Regions from separate parts of the Homo sapiens genome. Here region 1 is linked to region 2. Evidence: promoter capture Hi-C in 16 types of primary human blood cells and fetal thymus (Javierre and others, 2016). All regions are on one chromosome and are shown on one strand. Each heading gives the region's core, a stretch centred on a gene start or on the middle of the fragment in contact. The rest is flanking DNA. Distances are from core to core; before and after follow the strand shown.

The links. The method cuts DNA at HindIII sites, captures the fragments that hold promoters and counts their contacts. A CHiCAGO score of 5 or more calls a contact.
Region 1: a contact is called between a fragment that was not itself captured here and the fragment with the promoter of CXCR1 in region 2, in 2 of 17 cell types (neutrophils and total CD8 T cells). The highest score is 5.3, in neutrophils.

What each region holds. Positions count from the first base shown.
Region 1 is chr2:218,481,806-218,485,844 of GRCh38, forward strand. It overlaps USP37 (ubiquitin specific peptidase 37), which reads right to left. Exons shown (of 26, transcript NM_020935.3): 16 at 3,859-3,938; 17 at 265-429. Among named protein-coding and RNA genes, the nearest start is that of VIL1, 65 kb to the left of the region's middle. The HindIII fragment of the contact is 768 bases long and covers 964-1,731 here.
Region 2 is chr2:218,165,264-218,169,365 of GRCh38, forward strand. CXCR1 (C-X-C motif chemokine receptor 1) reads right to left here and starts at 1,699. Exons shown (of 2, transcript NM_000634.3): 1 at 1,645-1,699. The HindIII fragment of the contact is 3,933 bases long and covers 1-2,006 here.

The DNA.
Region 1 (4,039 bases), core at 98-2,597, 320 kb after region 2:
ACCATGCTGGCTTTATTATTTTATTTTTTGTAGAGATGAGGTCATGCTCTGTTGCCATAGGTGGTTTCAAACTCCTAGGCTCAAGCGATTCTCCTGCCTCAGCCTCCCAAAGTGCTGGGATTACAGGCATGAGCCACTGCATCTGGCCATTGATCTGATTTTACCTTGGAGTCATATTATGTAATTCAGTCATTCTTTTGATTAGATACTAAAGCCTTTCTATTTCAAAAGGGAATATAAAGACATAGTCTCTCAAGGACTTACATTGCCATATGTGCACTCCAACCAAGGGTAAAAGGTGGTTTTGTATTTTCAGTGCAATGAGATGACAGGGTCAGGTATCTTGGAATGATGACTTGCTGCCCAATCTTATTGTTAAGCGAGAGAGCCACATTGAAGCTATATCGTTTCAAATGGAGAATGAGGACCCTGAAAAACAGGAGATGACAACCTTACTAATTCATACATAATACATGTATCTTTCTTACAGTAAAAGAGATCACTCTATGTTAGACGACTTTTGATTTAAAAAATCCATTTGGCCAAACCAAAGACACGTCAAAGAATATTTACTGAATACCTGTTAGTGCCAGGCATTGGGCTAGGTAAAAAGCATACAAATAATGGTGGATTAGTGTGGTTTGGGTAAAATACTTATAATGTTCCTAGAAAAAACACAAATAAATAAAATATAGCAGACAAGAATGTTAAATTTGGCACTGATATTGGGTTAAATCCTTAAATTATTTACTTCACTGTTACATAGTTTAAAAAGCAATAGGTTTTATATAACCACTACTAGTAAAATAATGTCTATTAAAATGTTACATAGCTCTTATATTTGATGGTAAACATTAATTACTTCAAGATGATTTTTGATGAGAATTATTCTTTTATTTTCAGAAGTACTTTCTCTGTAGAAAGCTAAGGAGGAAATACAAAACTTTTCCCCATTTAGAAAAAAGCTTTACAAAAATTTGCATGCCAAATCTGATCTGTGGGTCTGTAAAGGCTTTTAGCTCTTTAGAAGCACTGAATTCTTTGTGGTTAAAATTGTGGTAACCTTTTCACTTCTCACACAGAACACGATCTCTGCTTGATGGATTAAATATATTTCTCAACCCACAAGAACACTTTAAAAATTGAATTTCAAACATCTTATGGGAATAAACTTCAGTTCTAGGCACACACACAAAAATGATCTATAAAAAACTGATTCTTACCATATATGCCTTCATCACAGAAGCCACAAACAAAAATTTGCAAACTGAAGTTATAGATTGTAGTTCTCTTTAAAAAGCGTGCTAGAACTCAGGATCTTCAAATATACAATTTGAGAGAATACAAGGACACAACTGATATGAAACCAATGTCAAAATTAAATATTTTAACTAGAATTTCAAATAACCTAACCAAAATAAAAGGTAATATGAGGCTACTCTGGACACACTGCCTATAGTGTAGCCCTGCTATGCATGGAGCAGTAAAAGGTGGGGGGGAAGGTAATATAAAACAGGAAAATGATAGTCAAAATCACTGATCTTCAAAGATGAGGCCCAACTTTGTGAACAGATTTGATAATGGCATCAGGCTCTTCAAGAATAAGAGTGGCTTTGAATATTAAACTGAACAAAAGTAGAACAAGACTAATCATTAGGATTTAAAGAGTGGCTTTGAATATTAAATTGAACAAAAGTAGAACAAAACTAATATTAGGATTTGACAAACAGAAGCTTCTATCACATAAGTCTGGAATAAATTAACCTTTAACACAAGTGATCTACCAGGAAAAAAAAAAAAAAGAAAAAAAAGAAAGAAAAACAAGGAGAAAAATTCCCCTTAGCATTTTTTTCCCCCCACTTGAAAAACCAAATAGCAAGAGAATGGGAAAGAGAAAAGACATCCAGCATGTGAGGTCAAAACTAGTCTTTTTAACTGTACACATAATTTCCTTAGTGACAGCTGGTAACAACCAATTCTTTGCCTTAAGATTCTTCCTCCCACCTTCCTGGCCTCAAACCACTCACAAACAGGAAAGAACAAATTCTCTTAATCCAAAAATATAAGTCTCTTAAGTCAATATAATAATACTGCTATGATTTATACACTTGAGGAGGCCGAGGCGGCCACATCACCTGAGGTCAGGAGTTTGAGACCAGCCTGGCCAACACGGCGCGACCCTGTCTCTACCAAAAACACAAAAATTAGCCAGGCGTGGTGGCGCGTTCCTGTAATCCCAGCTACTCAGGAGGCTGAGGCAGGAGAATCGCTTGAACCCAGGAGGCGGGGGTTGCAGTGAGCCGAGATCATGCCACCGCATTCCAGCCTGGGCAACAGAACGAGACTCTGTTTGAAAAAAACAAAAAACACAACATTTTTTGTAGAGATGGGGGTCTCACCATGTTGCCCAGGCTGGTCTTGAACTCTTGGTCTCAAGCAAACCTTCCACCTTGGCTTCTCAAAATGTTGAGATTACAGGCGTGAACCACCACACCCAGCCTTTATAAAGTCATTTCTTTAAAACCAACTTCCTTGGCCCGGCGCGGTGGCTTATGCCTATAATCCCAGCACTTTGGGAGGCCAAGGCAGGTGGATCACCTGAGGTCAGGAGTTCAAGACCAACCTGGTCAACATGGCAAAACCCCGTCTCTACTAAAAATACAAAAATTAGCCAGGTGTGGTGGCATACAGCTGTAATCCCAGCTACTCGGGAGGCTGAGGCAGGAGAATCGCTTGAACCCGTGAGGCAGAGGTTGCGGTGAGCTGAGATCGTGCCACTGCACTCTAGCCTGGGGGACAGAGCAAGACTCTGTATCAAAACAACAACAACAACAACAACAACAAACAACCAAAAAAAAAAACCAACTCCCATTTTCTAGAAAGGAGTAGATTATGAAATGTAAAAGAACTAGTCTCTAGGGGCTAGGTTCCAGAAATTCCACACTTACTGACAGAATATTGAAGCTAATAAAAGAAAGTAAAGCACTCTGTAGGCAAAGTGCTACATAAATACTTAATGTTAATAACAACCTTGGTGTTTGCGATCTATTCTTGGAAAGAACTAAAAGCTGTCCTGTAACCACATAATAATTTTTTGTAACTACTTCAGTTTTATGTTTATACAGAGCAGATACAATATAAGTTAATTTCATTCCTATATCAGAAAATTTATCTTATGATTACAGGAAATTTACTAATTTATAAGATCCTTAGAATGAAGGAACGCACAAACTGCAAAAAATTACTCCCTGTTTTATTCTTATATACATGTGTGTATGTGTCTATAGCAGGTTTTTACTGAAAGTATGGGATAACAGAAAAAGACTACAGCACAACACAGGGCAACAAAATATAACTGAATATTACACATTACTGAATTAAAAATTGACTAGCTAGTTCTTATAATTATTCCAAAGTCTCAGCAGCTGTATCCTCTGTTGCCATTTTCTTGGAACTCTCAAGACCCTTTTTCTCTTCAATATTTCAAACGCTTTTCCTTCCTTCCTTTAAATATATATTTCTTTCTTTTGTAGAGATGGGGTTTCCCTACGTTACCCAGGCTGGTCTTGAACTCCTGGACTCAAGTGATCCTCCTACCTCAGCCTCCCAAAGTGCTAGGATTACAGGCGTGAGCTATCACACCTGGTCACCTTTCTTATGCAAAAGCATTCTAGCTCTCTGCCCTCTTACACTCTGCACATTTCAGCTTTCCTGACCCTCTTTACCAATCCATTCTGGTAACCTTCATTTATTCAGTAATATTTGTATGAACTTTAAAAAGAAAAATTGAAAAGCAATTAAATGTACCTGGGAATTCTTTAGTCCATAGCAAAAAAAAAAAAAAAAAAAAAAAATTACCTAGGAAGCCTGTTAAATTTGTGCCTGACAAGAGCACACTTCCCACCACACTTCTCACAAGAATACTCCAGTTCTTCGGCCTATAAAAAGAAGGAAAAATAAAGCATGAAGGTGAATCAGCATTAGTATCTTAAATGCAAATAATTTGCTCTAGTCTTATTAGTTCCATTAGTGGAATGAC
Region 2 (4,102 bases), core at 449-2,948:
GAAATGTGATTTAGTAGCTCGGATTCAAGGCATTCTCATCAATGATGTGAGAGCAGTTACTGGGATATCCTTGGCTTCCCTGTTGGTTTGGCAATGAGAGCTCTCCTTCCTCCTTTGACTCCAACCTGGTCTTCTTCGGAGGTTGGCTTCCCAGTGTTCTCCACCTTCCACAACTCTAAGGCCTGGCCTGAGTGTGGGGTAAGATGGAATATGGGGAAAACACCTTAGCCCTAGCTCAACCTACAACTGCCTCCTCTCAGCCTATGTCTCTACCTCTGTCCCTCTTTAGCCTTCTCCATCCTCAGCTGTGTCTGTGCATTTGGATGTGGGGACCAGGTTGGTCTTAGACATTCAGGGAAGGGCCAGCATTAAGCAAAATGCAAGAAGGCAAACCTGTTCCCAGGTGTCCCCTTCTACTATTTCTATTCCTATGTTCTCCCTGATTCTTGTTTACCCTCCTTAAAATCTACTGGGGGAAGGAAGTGATAACAACACATTGCATTAAACTGTATATTTTAAGCCTTCTTTAAATGAGGAGCACATATTTTGTTCCTCTGTCTAAAGGAGTTTTAAGTATTTGAGAAGATAAAGTCTCCATCTTGGTCCCTGAAACCCTCCACCCCTGAAAAAATCCACAGAATCATTCAAGAGTTTTCAAATATATTTCCTATTGTGAAATAGTTTACTGAAATAAGATCTTCCCAGAAGCCCAGTATGTGAAGCAGATAAAAGCTGAGCCACTGTGGGGCAGAGTGTGCTAATCTCCGAACCCAGATGGCCCCTAAAGAGCCCCTCAAAGCTCCAGGACTCTCCAGAGAAGTCTGAAAGCCTTTGGAAAGTCACCGAGGTTGGTTGTAAAGACACCTAGCATCCAGTCTTCATTCCATCCTGATTCTACCATTAATAAGTTTCGTGTGTAATCCCAGCCCTTTGGGAGGCCAAGGCAGGCAGATCATGAAGTCAGGAGTTCGAGACCAGCCTGACCAAAATGATGAAACCCCGTCTCTACTAAAAATACAAAAAAATTAGCTGGGTGTGGTGGCGTGCACCTGTAATCCCAACTACTCAGGAGGCTGAGGCAGGAGAATCACTTGAACCCGGGAAATGGAGGTTGCAGTGAGCCGAGATCGTGCCACAGTACTACAGCCTAGGCGACAGAGTGAGACTCCATCTCAAAATAAATAAATAAATAAATAAATAAGTCTCATGACCTTGAGTGGGGTCTCGTACCCCTATAGATTTCAGTCTTCTCATCTGCAAATCGAGGAAGACAGAATCATCCACCTCTCATTTGCTGCCAGGCCTGAGGGTGTATGATGAGTCCACTCAGATCCACACATTTTAGTGTGTTCCCTCCCTACCAGTATTTGCATTTTCACTGAAGACAAAGTCTTAAGGTGAAGCAATAAACATCAAATTGGGGAATGGTCAGCCTCTTCCCACAAAAGGGCAAGGTATAAAAAGAGGGGATGAGGAGGCTGTCCTCTTCACCTGCTAACTCCATGTATGAGTGGTGGTCACAAGAGAGGAAGCGGGCAGCAGAAATCCTCAGCTCCCACAGAAATGAATACATTTTCCAAAATAAAGTCAAGCCAAGCAGCCCTACCCCACAGAAAGTCCTAGCAAACAGAGGTGGCTTCCTACCTGAAGCACCGGCCAGGTGTGTCCAACAGTAGGAGCTGCAGTCAGAGATCAGAGTGACTTAACAGCTAGAGGGCACTTGATGAATAAACGGAAATAAGGAAACCACATCAGATGACACCTCCCTTCTGAGCCCCACCCATGTCTACATTTGGGGAAGAACAGTTTAAGTCAAGGGATCACAGACTTGTGATTAGAGACTGCCAGGGTCCATATGACCAAGTGGGGGTCCCAGGTGTGAAGCTGGGGTTGAGGGTCCATTATCTGAATTCTCCACTCTATGGATGATCATTTTTATTATTTTCCTTTTCTTGAATTTATTTCCATTTGTTTATTCCTAAATTCCCTAGTATATCACCTGTGGAAGCTTGCAACTTCCTGACCAAGTATAAAGGGCGAAGGATTTGACTTACAGCAGAGACTTCAGAAGGAGTCCCCCATAGGAGGGACTTGGGGGCAATCCAGTGGGAAAGAGGAGGAGGACTGCGCTTGAGTTGTGTTTGAACAGCAGGCACTCAATCTCTACTTATTTTGCAGGCTTCTTTGAGGTGGCCTAGCTCGGATTCAAGGCATTCTCATCAAGGATGTGAGAGCAGTTACTGGGATATCCTTGGCTTCCCTGTTGGTTTGCCAACGAGAGCTCCCCTTCCTCCTTTGCCTCCAACCTGGTCTTCTTTGGAGGTTGGCTTCCCAGTGTTCTCCACCTTCCACAACTCCAAGGCCTGGCCTCAATCTCTACTTATTTTTCAGGCTTTTTGAGGGTATTTGAATGGAACACAAACCCTCCTTTGCCGCCAGCCACTCTTTCGCACAATCACTGCCAATGACCAGTTGGTTTAAATGGCCCTGAGGCTGACGGCATAGGCCACTCCCAGAGTCTGGCTGGTTAGCAGAGAGACCACAGAGCTGGGGCAGTCCATGAATGGAAGAGCTGTGGTCAAGGTCACTGCAGCCCCCATCTCAGTAACGGAGAATGGCTTCTCTGGGAACCCACCTTAGCTGCCTCCAGCAGCTAATGGCTGTCCCCTAGCTTGAGTCTTCTGGCACCTTCGTCACTTCTCCATATAACATGAACCCTGCTGTGAGGCATTTACAAGTCAGCCCTCTTCTAGCTTGGGAGCCATGAGACAGCAAGAACCTTCTTCAATTCATGTTTATGTTCTCTTTCAGGGAATATAGTAGGTGCTCAATCAATGGTTGTGGAATAAATGAAGGGAGACATTTCTCCTGTGATTCATGGACCATAAGTCACCACCACGATTCAGTGTCTATTGCTTTTGGCTACACACTAAAGTCACTGGTATGCCTGATAGCTTCACTTCCACACAGCCCAGTTGGTCTGCCTGGCATTGCTTCTTTCCAACCTTCCTCTAATGTTTGGAGCTAATGCCAGTCTGTGCAAGTATAAATCCTGCCCTACCACAAATGCCAAATTTACCATGCCATGGATTCCTACAGTTCTGCACTGGAAAGAATTTTTTTCTTTTTTTAAGAGACAGGCTCTCACTGTGTTGCCAAGGCTAGAATGCAGTGGTGTGATCATAGCTCAGTGTAACCTCAAATGCCTGGGCTCAAGCAATCCTCCCACCTCAACCTCCTGAATAGCTGGGACTACAGGCAAGAGCCACTACATCTGGCTTTCTTTTTTTATATTATATTTTTATTTTTATTTTTTATTTAGTTATTTATTTATTTGTAGAGAAAGGGTCCTGATATACTGCCCAGGCTTATCTTGAACTCCTAGCCTCTAGTGATCCTCCTGCCTTTGCCTCCCAAAGCACTGGGATTACAGGCATAAGCCACCATGCCCAGCCGGCAAGCCTATTTTTTAAGCTAAGTTGTGCTTTCCTCCTGGGCTCTTTTATCATTCATAGATGGTAACAGGAAGTGTAAGGGGACAATAGCCACTCATGCTTTGCTTTTACTGATGTTGGACTATTGTGCTCTAACGCCTAGACTAGAAAGGAGTCAAAGATGGGGTAGTCCCAGGAGGTGGGAGACTCCCTCTATTAATCATCTAGGGAAAATCAGCCCCAAGGGCAGAAAATAGTCACTGGGGACACAGGAGAAAAAAGACGGGGGCCTAGACTGCAAAACACCTGCCTATACTCAAGAAAGACCCTGAGGCCGGGAGAAGGATAGTTTTTGCCACAAGGGGGCAGCAGTTGCTAGACAGGGAATCCCCTGTGAGACACCCCCTTGAGAAAGACCAGGGCCAAGAGCAGGTATATTTAACACCGTATGTTAAGTTCTTCTTGGTGTATAGTTCCCTTCTGCTTTTCCTAAACCCTCAGTAAGTCGGTTCACTATTCCAGTCTATTTCAAGGAATCACTGAGGGGTTAGGGAAGAGGCTGGTCTCCTGGAGCCCGAGGAGTGAAGGGGAGCAGCCCTGCTGCATGAGTGTGGTGAGGGCAACAGCAATGCTGGGGTCTCCAGGAGAAGTTGCATCTGGAGGACAAG